2 separate regions of the Homo sapiens genome follow, and region 2 is linked to region 1. Evidence: promoter capture Hi-C in 16 types of primary human blood cells and fetal thymus (Javierre and others, 2016). All regions are on one chromosome and are shown on one strand. The core of a region is centred on a gene start or on the middle of the fragment in contact, and the rest is flanking DNA. Distances in the headings are between cores, read along the strand shown.

What was found. The method cuts DNA at HindIII sites, captures the fragments that hold promoters and counts their contacts. A CHiCAGO score of 5 or more calls a contact.
Region 2: a contact is called between a fragment that was not itself captured here and the fragment with the promoter of ETS1-AS1 in region 1, in 7 of 17 cell types (activated CD4 T cells, total CD8 T cells, non-activated CD4 T cells and 4 more). The highest score is 11.2, in activated CD4 T cells.

The regions. Positions count from the first base shown.
Region 1 is chr11:128,522,950-128,529,590 of GRCh38, forward strand. ETS1-AS1 (ETS1 antisense RNA 1) reads left to right here and starts at 3,193. Exons shown (of 4, transcript NR_120581.1): 1 at 3,193-3,366; 2 at 3,584-4,469; 3 at 6,062-6,136. The region is part of intron 3 of ETS1 (ETS proto-oncogene 1, transcription factor); the gene reads right to left. RefSeq lists a cis regulatory region at 1-519. The HindIII fragment of the contact is 5,425 bases long and covers 2,792-6,641 here.
Region 2 is chr11:128,481,578-128,488,218 of GRCh38, forward strand. It overlaps ETS1 (ETS proto-oncogene 1, transcription factor), which reads right to left. Exons shown (of 10, transcript NM_001143820.2): 6 at 4,492-4,569; 7 at 3,246-3,494. Among named protein-coding and RNA genes, the nearest start is that of MIR6090, 37 kb to the right of the region's middle. RefSeq lists enhancers at 1,221-1,300, 1,481-1,530, 1,901-1,970. The HindIII fragment of the contact is 766 bases long and covers 2,861-3,626 here.

The sequences.
Region 1 (6,641 bases), core at 1,943-4,442:
TCCTGCGTTGGCAGGGGAGTCCAGAACGGGACCCCAAACTAGAACCCAGCCATGAGCTTCCGTAAGCTTCCAATTTACCTCCAGCAGTGGTTGGGTTGAAGGGGAAGTTATGATTTATTTCTAATTATTCTGTTCCTCTAATTATGTCACCATTGGCCAAAGCTTTGTCTTTCCTTTCACAGACTCTCCTCTTTTAGATAAAACTAACAACCCTCCCACGACCGCCACCAAAAAAGTGATGCAGAGGCTCTGTGGTTTTGAATTTCTGGAGTACATCATTGGCAGCCATGACAGAATCACAATGCACAGTTTCTGTTCCATTTGGGAACCCCCAACACTAGAGATAAAACAAAATGAACCCGAATAATTCATGGTTTGCCACTAATACATTGGTTGTAATAGAGATAGTTTGTCCTAATTAACAAATCAACCAGTACATGTATATATCTAAATACATAGCTAGAACCAGGCACTGAGCTCCATCTTTGATTAACAGAAAGATTAAACATAAATCTTCCTGAGCAATCTCAGAGAAAGCTATTTTTAATGTTTCCTGATTTCTAAGCACATTTGAACTCCCAGCATTTGACTGTAACTGTAACCTCTGCCTCTGGTAAGTTTTGACACACAGGCTTACCTTCATCTAATCCCAGTTTTGTGCCCTTGAAGCCTTAGTAATTTGCAGATTTCCCACAGCAAATCGGGGAGGAAGCCAGGAACAGAAAAATCTGTGGCTCCTGGTCTAAACTCCAGATTAAATCCCTCCTTAGTGACCAGAGGAAAATATTTGTATGTGATAGTCCTAATTTTTGAAAGAACAAAGACTGTTGCAATCCAGCTGTGTTTCCACAAGGTATGAGAAAACAATGCTGGCCTCCAGATGACAAGAACAGACCCTTCTGGTCCTGGGAAAAGCCTAGAGAAACAGCTGATGAATGAATTGTACATTTACACGTCCAAATGAACCACAAAAAAAAAAAGGTTCTTGAATCAATTCTGCCTTACTCACTATGAATTCATCAGGAGAAGAAGTGAACAAATCTAGAGTTGCTTTGGGGAATTTTGTTTTGTTGATGTTGTATTGAGAAAATGTTGGCATTTTTTAATCCAAGTGTGAGTACTTCTCTATTTTCAAATGCAGATTCCTCAGAGCAACTCCTTTCTCTCTTCCCCAGTTTGCTCCTCAACTTTCTTCCCCAGACTAGCCTAAACACTGCTGCTAACATCCACCCAAATTAGATACTAAAAAAGCCCACCATGATTAAACTGTAAACACTTTCCACTCTAGCAATGAGGAAAATTATTCTTTCTAATTCTTCCATAGTGACAACTCAGATAGTCAATCATCCGTTTCCTAATCCAGTCCTGAAGCACAGAAACAAAATGAGTGAATGTCCAAATCAAGGAATAGGGTTGCGTAAAGCAGCAGTTTGGAGAGATAGCCAGGCGCCACCACAGGCTGCCAGGAAAGTTACCTCCAGATGATATTAATTATGAATATTTATGCCATCAGAAGTTATGCATCGAACCCTGGATTTGGATGAAGAGCACTAATAAGGTCATGTTAAAATATTTTTTACATATTTAAGATATAATAATCTGATCAGGTCTGCCAGGGTCATGTTTCATTAATCTAATCAATGTTGATAAATGAAATTTTTATTCATTCTCTTTAGGACACAAGTAGATTTTTCTAAATGTTCATATGGACTTTAAATGATATTTCTATGTTATCATACGCTAAAACATTGATGCCTAGCCTAGTGCCTAAGACATTACAGAGCTCAATAAATATGTGTTGAATGATGAACTATCAACTTTTTGGTCACTATGGGCTTCCTAATTCAATGATTAAGTGAGTTTGATATGCTCTGGCTTGTGAAGATGAACTAAAAAGTGTCAGAGGCTGTGCCCTTTTCCCTTCATAGTAGAGCAGAACCTCTATCCCCAGCACTCACGTCCACTCGGTTACATGTATGCCTCAGTGTCCCCACCAGCCAAACAACAGCAGCCAAGCGTTGCCTTTCATCCACTTGGGCAAGATACTTCAATACCATATCTGGTTTTTAAGGCACTCAGGAAAAAAAAAAATCAATCAAATAAATACTTCTGTGCTTGTGCTTGTACTGCAGCAGTCTGTTCCTCCTGCATTTGGGAAAAAACAGAATTGTATTTTTAAGCATTCCTTAGACTTCGGCTAATTATATCCTACCAAGTGCTGAATTGCCTTACACTAGGAACGTGAAGTCAATAAGGGCCAAGAAAAGTCCGCAGGAGTTGGGGAACAGAAGAGTGGAGCTAGACAATAATATTAAGAAAATAGTCACCTTCATACAGGAATTCCTCAAGCACATGGAGTATGTAAAAAGCATACTTTCTTTTTTATTTATACTCCTCCCTCAACTCCACCCCAACTTCAATAAAAAAGAAATATAAATATACACTTAATGTTGAACAATCATGGAAGACAGACTTTCCCTCTCCAGAAGTGTCCTAGCATGTTATCTACTCCTGAGTCTTGAACTTCAACAAAACAAAGAATCTCTGAGTTTTGAGCTAAAATATGCTTTACTGAAGGTAGGTACAAAAACATTCAGACCACTAACGGCTGATCCAGAACCAGTTTATGACTCACAGATGTTGATTTACTGGTATAAATGTAAGATTTAGAAAAAAAAAAAAAAAAAAAAAAGCCCTCAATTAACAACAACCTGTCTGAGCTGCATTTGTGGTCTCATTTTTCTCTGAGAAAAGGCAACAGTCTCTGTCATACACAGAAACAAGCTTTGAAAGCTTACTTCTAAGGCAAGTGGTTTCTATGTGAGAAGTTTAGTCATTAAAAGTCACACTAGGGAAGAAAAATGCCTGGCACTTCAATATCTACATTATCAAGCAGCAATAAAATGGAAAATTAGAGATAGGAAGGAAAATTAAAATAACTCTCTTAATTAAACTTGGATGCCAAAAAGCCTTAGGGTCAGTTAAGGGACCCAAGCCAGGGGACTCAGATGGTACTGTTGCTGACTGCAGGCTGGCTCTGTGACCTCACCAAAGCCACTTAACCTTTTTGTGTCACAACCTCATCTCTGTTTCAGGGAATAAAATCAGCCCTAGCTCTCCCTAGAATGGAACACAGACTCATTGGCTATTGTTTAGAAGGCACAATAAACAATGAGGGTAGGAGGAGCTGCAGTCAGGAGGGAAGAAGGGAGGGTGGGGTGGGGTTGGGGGAGAGGGGAGGACTTGGGAGCCTGTTTGCCCTGGAAAGCTCAATATAAGAAAACAAAGAGGATAGTAGTGTGGGCTTTGGAATAAGACTCAGGTTCAAATTCTTACTCTACCAACTAGCCAGCTGAATTGCCACAGGTAAGTCATTTAAACAATCCCGAACCTCAGTTCCTCCATGTTTCAACTAGGGATAATAGCAGCACACACCTTTTAAGGCTATTTGAATGATTAAATGAGATAATGTATGCAAAGAATTTAGCACAGTGTCTAGGTGAGAATTAGTATTTGATTATTGTTATTAAGATCTAGTATACGGTAGAATATGTGGGAAATCACATTAAATGTCTGTCTACAGCCATCTCTTTGCAGAATAGCTTGGATGCTCAATTTTCCTGAACGATCTCCAGCGAGAGATAGAACAACTATCACCACATTTCATTTAAAAATCTCTTCAAGACCCTTCCTCAGTTCTTAAACTGGCAACCTGCCCAGCATCAGCCTCACTTGAGAAATTCGAGAACTACCTGATTGGAGAAGAGAACTAGATTTATATTTGTTTTGAGTCACAGAAAAGTGACAGTTTAAATTCTGAAAGAAGATCACATTTGTAGTGCCTCTTTGGAGACAAAACCTTAGGTCTTGGATTTGTCACATGTTAGAGCTCAATGGGAGTTTATCAGTGCTCTCCAAGTCCAGCACTCCTATTTACCAGAGGTGAAAAATGAGTGTGAGTGAGGAAATTATTATTTCCAGGGCCACACAATCTAAAAAAGTCAGTGTCAGTACTAGAACCAGATGCCCTGATAGCAGTTCTCTCCCTGGCATCTCCTTGCATTTACTTTGCATTTCACTTTGGCAGGAGAAGTACCAGACACCCTTGAGACACAAGACAGGATACAATGGACATGGGAGTAGATAGATGAGCAGACTCAATTTCTAGAAATCCAACTTCTCTACACTGGATGTATTGTCTTTGGGCAAATACATTGCAGGATAACCACACTATGGTTCCCTGTGGGAGACAGCTTGGCATGGGCTGTCAGGAGAGAAAGGGCCTGGGTTGGCTCTATTGCTGTCTGCAGTTTCTTTAGACTATAATTATGAACCATTCAACTGCATCTGCAGCCCCAACAATGTGGGGTGGATTGGCCTAATCCACAGACCAAGCGACATTTTAAAATCCAGCAGTTTAGACACGTATTCCTCTTGCAGCAAATCAAACATGGCTCAGACAGGAAGAGGTAAGGAGCTGCCCAAGGTTAGAGGGTTCTGAGGTCTCATCCACACTCAGTGTTGTGTGCTTCCCTGAAGCAGGCTGAGCATGTTGCCTGGAATTGCTGCAAATGCAGAATGCAGGCTACTCTGTGAGCCTTTGGGGATCATGTAATTGGGATTCCAATTTAAATTGTCCTGAATTGGACTCTTGAGGAGGTAGAGGGATAATGGCAATAGCACAGATGGCAAGAGAACCAACATCCTTTAATAATATGAGAGAAGAGGACAGCCAGTCTCCTAGAAGCTCTGCATCCCAGGGCTACAGGATTTCACCCACTGTCCAAGGCTGCAGGTGGTTTCATCCTGGTGGAAGGCTAAGGCCTTCCTCTGATCTTACTCTGCTTTTCTCTTGGGTTACAAAGACAACATCAAACTTCAAAACAGATGTTCTCTGCAGTTGTGGTTTGAATCTTACATTAAGACAATTTCACTGTGGAATCTTTTCCCCTCTCCCCACTACTTTCATTTAAAATGCCAAATCAATTGCCCCAAAAGACTAACATTTACCACCCCAGAGATCAAGAAGCAGAGATAAGTGGAGCACAAAAAGGAGAAATAGCCCTGAAAGGAAAAGGGACGGTGGTACAGGAGGAAGTAGTGGAAGGGAAGTCCTCTGAGAACAATGGAAGTGTAAGTCGAGGACAGAGAAGGGGAGGAGATGAGGAGGTAGAGTCACAGTGATTTTATGTTCTTGTCGTTCTGGGACTTCAGTCCCCAAGATTTCAAAATGCAGTTAAGACCTAGTAAAGTATCCCATACTTTAATTAATTGTCTTGCATGGCCAACAGTCATGGAACTACAGAAAACAGATCAATGGGAGGTCCTCATGCTGGAAGAGATGCAAAGGATCCAGGATAGAATGGAGGTGAAAGGATCTCAGGAGGTCACAGAAGACACAAGGGAAGGTCAAGCTGACAATCTAGGCAGAATATAGAGTGTGTTTCTCAGTCTTTTCCTCACATGGACATTTGCAGTACACAAAGAATTTCCCTCACAGAAGCTGTCACCCCACCCCTGCAAGTTGCCACTTTTCTGCTCAGCTCAAGAGCACACTCCTAGTACATATTTGAATATGCGTGTCAGTCTCCTACACTCTTTAAAGGCAGCAACTGAGGTTCAGTCATTATTACACTCCATGGTGTTTAGCTCAAGGTAGTAAGAGCCCCATAAATTATGTTCATTATTTAATTAATGAACAGTTAACTTCCTAACATCCCCGTAACATTTTTACAGAAAAATGAAGCTCAGATACCAGTTTTGTTTTGCCTAGTTCGGTCTGAAGTGAGACTCAAATTTGCCCAAAGTTTAAGATTAAAGATCCAACCAACTGACTCATTTCTAACTAAAAAGGTCTTCGTAAAGTTTTATTCTGTTCCTCCCATTCCTCCCATCCCCTTAAAGGAGAATGTTGCTAAGATCACAATATTCATTTTACTTTTTATCTAATTTTTTATTCTGAGACTTCATGTAAAAAATGACATTTGGCTCACCACGAAGTAAATCAGTTGTTTGATTGTCAGCCTGGACGTTTTATACATCACGCTATTCATATTCTCAGATGGCTGCTCAGAAGCAGTCTTCAGGAATTTCCGAACTTCGAGTTGAATCTTTTATTTCACTGGCTTCCACAAAGGTAAGATGTACAACTGCTATATACATTATTTGTAAGATAAGGGAAATACATGAAATGAACTCAATTTCCTCCATCTTTATGAGAAAGAATAGACTGTTACATGCTTTATGGTGAGCCAGGGTGCTTACTACAAATCCCTTTCACCTTCTCAAGTTTAATCTGTCAGGACTCCAGAAGCACTGTATTTTGAAATATATCTTCTGGCTATACAGGTGATTCTATATTGAGGAAGGGTATGGGTTGGAAGTAGAAATGGGGGGACATGGGGATGGGCTGAGAGTGAAGATGGGAATGAAAAGGACAGGGAGGATCAAATGGAGCTGCTACAATCTAGCAGGTGGCACAGAAATATAGAAAGCAGCCCTAACCACTTTTGTCGAAGTAGAGTATTGCTCTCTGCACTTTGTTGTTTGTATCTACTAATGGGTAATCAAGATGTTGGAACAGAAAAGGCAGCTGATCTTAAAGCCTAAAAACCAAGGAAATATTGGATTTGGTGAGGGCT
Region 2 (6,641 bases), core at 1,994-4,493, 41 kb before region 1:
GCCAAAAGGCAAAGGGATGTGACAAATGTTTACGGAGAAATATCCGTAAGTCAACTCTTAATTGTTCAGGGGTGGTTGATCTATAAATTTCAAATCCCAGAATAAGGCTGACTTATACAACTTCATATTAGTGTGCCTCCAGTGTATTTTTCCCTCCATGACAGCGGAGATTGGTTAAAACAATAAACATCAAACATGAACAGATGCCCAAACCTAAATTAAATATATAGGAAAATATGTTGCTCCCAACATTGTTTAAAGATCCGGATAAAATGTATTCGGTTGAGTGTGTACTTTTTGTAAAATCCACTGCTGTGGGTTTTCTCTACATCCTGACCCCCTCTGGAACTGCTTTAAACAGAAAGGTGGTGTCATCCGTTTCATCTCATTCCTTCCTCCACTCATCCATTCAGAGGAGGGTAATCTCTGGAAAGCAAACTGAAGAGCTTCATGGAGTTATCAGCCCTGCCCACCCAGTCCACTAGCAAAAGGGCACCTCTTCATTCTTACTAAAAATGAATATATATTTCTTTATAATTCTTAAAAATTCTTTCCCATTTACCCACCAGAAAAGTCATCTTTTTCACCTTTTTAGAGATCATTTAATTTTCTTTCAAGAAATTCACACTAAATGATTTAAGAAAACAGCCTACAACCAGAATGTCAAAGCCTTGTTTTAGCAGAACAGGAAATTCTGTGGCGTCTCATAAAAAGGTATTTGTTCATACCAGCTACTGATCTTCATGGTCACTTATTTTCTCTTTGAGACAAACATACCAAAAGCCTAAGAAGGAGAATTTATATTTTCATCAACACCGCACCAAGTCGATAGTATTTATGCTAAAGTCTCTCTGAAATGATTCCATTTCTATCAGCCAATTTTATACTTGGAGAAAAAGGACATCAGAATTTTCACAAGCAAGATAGTAGAGTTTCCAAGGAGTCCCACTAAGCAAGGGGACTAAACCAAGCCAGAACCAGTCTCTGGCAACCCCCCAAACATGAGGCAAATGCAACCCTGTTGAGAGTTGTGGTTTACAGCGGTAGGCAGCTTTCATTTTAGCTCGATTTCACAACCCTGGTGCTGGGAACCTTCATTTACGGGTATTTTCTCCAAAAATGGGTAGAATCCAACTGGATTAGATACTCAGTTATGCTGCTGCGCTCATGTAGGGAAACCTGTGTTCTCTAAACTGTCCACTAGCCAGCCTTTCTGAGAAGGGCCTCGGCGAGCTCCTTCCAAAGCTATCTGAGTCCACCAAACAGACCTCAGAGCACTCAAAACAGAAGATGCGGCAGCACCCAGCCACCCACTGAGTAGACTCGTACAAAGACAGTCCTTAGGGCCCAAATAAGTGGGGCATAGAAGCACTCTGTACGCTGTAATGCAGCCCGTGAATACTGTACTATGGTTAGTATAAATAACAATCAGCTAACAGTAATGCTTTCGGTCTAGACCAATCACAGCATCTCAGAATCAATTGGCCCTTTGCATAGGCCCTGTTTGCAGCACTTCTAACATGCAGAAAACAGCCCTGCACAAAATGGTCTTCCCCTCAAGTTTCTGTGGCCTGAACTTGGAGGGAGGGAAGAAGAGTGGAGCCAGAAAGAAATACCTCATGTCTCCTTGTAAGGGTCACTTTTGGTCCACAGTCATTAGTTTGGGGTTGGAGGGGTGGTAGGGACCAAAACCAAGAATGAAGAAAAGGAGAGGGAAAGAGACAATTACACAAATGCAAAGCCAGATGCAATTTCAAAACAATGTGACAGGAGATCGACCCAAAGTTACAACATGGCTGAGCCCAAACCCACAGGCTTGGCCTCACTGTGTAGATGTACAGAAAGTCCCACAAGGAAGAAAGTCGTTTTAATGCTTTGACTCGCCTGATAAAAAAGAAACACATGTACACACACTTGTGTGTATGTATTTAAATAGACATGCACCCAAAAATAAAAAAGAGCCAGAAAGGGGAAGGCCGACTGGTCCCACCCATCCCCTTCGGTCTGAAACACTAACACCCTGGGGCCTTAAGAAGGAAGATTAGGGGTTCTGATTTTGCAGGGACTTTCCCTCTGCAGGGCTTGTTGGTGATCCCTAGGCCTGCTAGGAGGAAGTGTGAGTCTGAATACTCGAAGAAGACGACAATGGGCATGACCCATGATTCTTCAAAGTAAAGGTACCATTGGGCTCTCCTCCAAGAGCCTCACAATAGGCACCGCATATGGTCAGTCATTGAGCAGAAATCACTAATAGGCCAGCCCCAGCCTGACATCTGACCCAAGCCCCGCTTGATCAGCTTTCTCCTGTTCCTCTTCCCATTTATAATTCTTTCCCATTTACCCACCAGAAAAGTCAGGTTTTTCACCTTTTTAGAAATCATCTAGCTCTTGCTAAATAGACAAACCCTTTCTTACAATAGATTGCATTTTTCTCAGAAACAAAACAATCTGGACACTTTACTAGGTAGGCTGTACCTCTGAGTGTTTATGTCCTGTTCCTAAAAATTGGGTGCATTTTACCTTTTTTGCTTTATGTCACCCAGCTCTATTTTTAAACACTTTCTTCCCTGACAGTGAATATTTTATCACTATTATAATAGTCACGTTAACAAAACTACCTTCTTTTGGAAACCCCTGGCCACCTCCGTCCCTGGTCCTCTAGCTAAATACACACTTCACCACACTGCTGATGACTGGTTCCAAATAAACCGTTGGTTAACCATCTTGTATCTTCCCAAACCGAAAAAGTCACAGGAGGCTAAAGATCCCAGGCTGGCCAGCAGAGGTCATTCCAGGTACCCAGCTAGGATCTACAGTCAGACCCAGGAGTCCTCTGGGAGGAGCACCAGGACACATGCTAAGCTTAAGGGTTTTCCAGGGTGGCCACTTGAACCATTTTTACTTGATTATGTCCTCCTCAAGGAAAATAGAGCATACCTTTCAAAATGACCAAATTCAACTAGAGTTATTGAGTAAAACATTTTGCCCAAGTAAGATATTTAATTTCTTAGATTGCCTGATTTTGATTTCACTGTGGACCCCATGGCCTTTGTCATAATAATGGACTTGGCTAAAACACCACGATGGAAAGTTCTTAGTATCTGGACACTCTAAGATGGGAAGGCTGAAACTGAGGAATCTACAGGTCTAATAAATAAGAAAAAAAAAATGGAACCTGAAAAAAACTCACAAAGTCAGGTAATTCTTGTAAACCCAAGAGCTTTTAGAGAAGAAATATGACCTACCACGACTGGTCCTCCCCATGCACATGTTGTCTGGGGTGACGACTTCTTGTTTGATAGCAAAGTAGTCATTCTGCAAGGTGTCTGTCTGGAGAGGGTCTCGGAGAATGACCGAGGGGTAGTCATTCTCATACTTGAGGGAGAGGAGCTCTTCCGAGCTGATGGGATGGAGCGTCTGATAGGACTCTGTGATGAAGCTGGGCTCTGAGAACTCCGATGGTGGAACACACTGGGCATGCTCAATACCATAGCCTGGAAACAAAGGGTTTGCAAGTAAAGAGAGGAGAGATTTGTACCTAAAATAAGCAGTTTTCACCATCTACAGGGCCCTATGATGTGGGACAAGCTCCTTAGAGAATAAGGGAAAATACTTTAAATCAGAAAAGCTTGCATTTTTAACCTTGTCCACTACTAAACAGCTTTAGCCCTTGACAAGGTAATTGATTTCCTGACTTCATATCCTCATCTCTAAAATGGGGGTGATTGCGATTTTTCCCGGAGCACTGTGATGAAGATGAAATGAGGATAGAGGTCAAATGCCCACCAACATTCCCCACACAATAAGCTCTTGACACAGAGTAGTTAATATCATTGTGTCACTGGAATAAAAATTGTAATAACGTAAAAAGATAAAACGAAAAAAATAAAACCTGTTTCATATTCCCTGTAAAAGCACAGCCATCAGATAAGATGGTCCTATATCTCAGAGCTTACATTAGTGCAACAGGCCTACATTCATTGTTTCCCTCAGGCCATCTCTTCAGTATGGTTGGGTATCTTACACGAAAAAGGAGAAGACTGTATTTCCTATAATAGAATTTGAAGCTGCATAGCACACTCTTAAAGAAGGATTTTGGAGGAAATGCTGTTATCTCCACTAGTAAAAAGGAAAGAACAAAGACCAAGATCAAATCCCTAACCCAACCCTCTTTTGGCCATCGTAGTGCACAGTATCAAATAGGAACAAAAGTTTAGGGGTCTAGTTGCAGTCTCTCTGCATGACTTTCAGGTGAAGACATCAGAGAAGGATCCTAGTGTGTAGGAACTTGGTAGGTTAATGAAACATATATATAGGTTGAAACTTTGTGCTTTGTGGAAAATAATAAAATAAAGTAACAAAGAAGAGTCTACATCTAAGAAGATATTATTTTTGATAGAATTACCATGAAGGAGCCTGAGATTCACTGAGATAGGGGTCTTTTCCTAGTTTGCTATTATCATGAGAGAAGAGGGGTAGAAATGAACTTACTAATGAAGTAATCCGAGGTATAGCGGGATTCTGGATAGGCTGGGTTGACTCCATTAACTTGATATGGTTTCACATCCTCTGTAATGAACAGATAGGGAAGGAACAAAGAGGTCAATATTCAAGTCATGCTTGGCCTAAAAGGATCTTGGATGCAAAGACCACAATGATCTCAACCCCTTTTCTAAGAAATCTGCATACTCATTAACTGGGTTGGTATCTGAGTCTGTCCTGACTGTGGCCTTGTCTAAAGATGAGATCAAAAAAATATGACTAAGGTTATTATTTCAGTAGCTGCAAAATGGGATTTAGTATCTTGGAAAGAGAATCCATGAGTAATCTCTAAGGGCTCAGAAGGCATTCAGCATTCATTCTCAATGCATTCGTGCTGCGTGTATGTCGACCACACTATAGCCAAAGGCTTGAGTACATCCCAGGTTAGCAGGATCAATCCCCAACCCCCAAACTAATCAATTTCAAAATTTCTCAAAAATATATTGCAGTCTTTAGGCCATAGATTTTACGTTCTCCATTTCCTCTAACAGATGTCTGGTTTTTGTTTTGTATTTTTCCCATTGCCCTCAGGTTTCAAGTTCAGGCCCAGACAAGAAGCAGGACACTGGTAAGGTGACTCCATTTGGTGAAATGCGACTGCGCTTGTGTCAAGGGAGAGAAGAGCAACCCAGTCAAGCTCCTGCCCAGATGCCAACTCCCCTAGGAAAAGGAGAGGAAGGGAGACGAAGTGCACCTGCGGACAGAAAGCTCTGAACGACCCTGCAGTAAGCCTGGGATCCTCTAATTACCCTGGAACAAATGCCATGGCTCCGATTCTTGTATGGAGTAGTCTGATTATATTTCACCATAAGAATCTGACATAGAGTATGGGTTTGGGTTTTTCCTCAGGTATTTGATAGCTTGTTAGGAGCAAAGTCTGATGGGAAAACAAGTTTATGCCTGCACAGAAAAACAGTTCCCAGTTGAGATAAAATGATTAAACTTTGCTTTAGCAGTTTATCAGATTGAAACATCCCCGTACCTTTCACCTTCCACCCCACCCCAAACAGCTATGTTCTTTTGCTGCTGTGTTGCTTTAATTACAGAACAAAAGCTGTAGCCTCAGCACAAACATCATGCTCATCTCTTCAAGTAACTGAACCTGAAGAGGGAGAATTCTTTCTGCCTCTCTCAACAGAATATTGGGTGGGAAGATATGACTTTTGCTCTCAAACATACTGACTTATATCCTAATTCTCTTAAATTTTCTTACATTATTCCTTTACCCTAAGTGAGGCCAAACCAGTCTTAGCGGCCAGAAGGCCCCTGTGAATCCACATTATTATACAAAAAGCACAGGATGGGATGTTAAATTTTAAGTTAAATAAAAATATATTGAGGGCAGGCGCGGTGGCTCACGCCTGTAATCCCAGTGTTTTGGGAGGCCAAGGTGGGCAGATCACGAGGTCAAGGGATCAAGACCATCCTGGCCAACACGGTGAAGCCCTGACTCTACTAAAAATACAAAAATTAGCTAGGCATGGTGGCATGCGCCTGTAGTCCCAGCTACTCAGGAGGGTGAGGCAGGAGAATCGCTTGAACCTAGGAGGCGAAGGTTGCAGTGAGCCGACATCGCGCGACTGCACTCCAGCCTGGGTGACAGAGCAAGACTCTGTCTCAAAAAATAAATAAAATAAAATAAAATAAAAATATACTGAAAGTTGAAATAAAATGAAGAAAAGGAGATGAGTGATACTGAAGAAATCGCCTACCCTGAGCTTCATTTTACAGACAAGGACAATAATAGGACTTGTCCTTACTATCTCACAGTTATTTTGATAATCCAAAGAGAAAATGTATTTGAAAGCACTTTGGAAACAGGGAGACATGATAGAGATATTAATTGTAACTACAATCAGAGATGGGCTTAGATAGCCCAAAACACCTAGCAGCTCCATTTTGATAAATGGAGGAAAACAGCCTCTTAGTAGAATATACTGGGTTACACAGTCTGATTGAATCTGCTATTGTGTTTAGAAGTCAACAGTCAAATCAGATCTGTTAGGAGCCTGCCGTATCGTTTCCCTCTATAAACAGGTCGCTCATGTCAACACCTATGAGTGGGTGTCTGTGCATGGAGAACATGCCGGTGCTTTGCA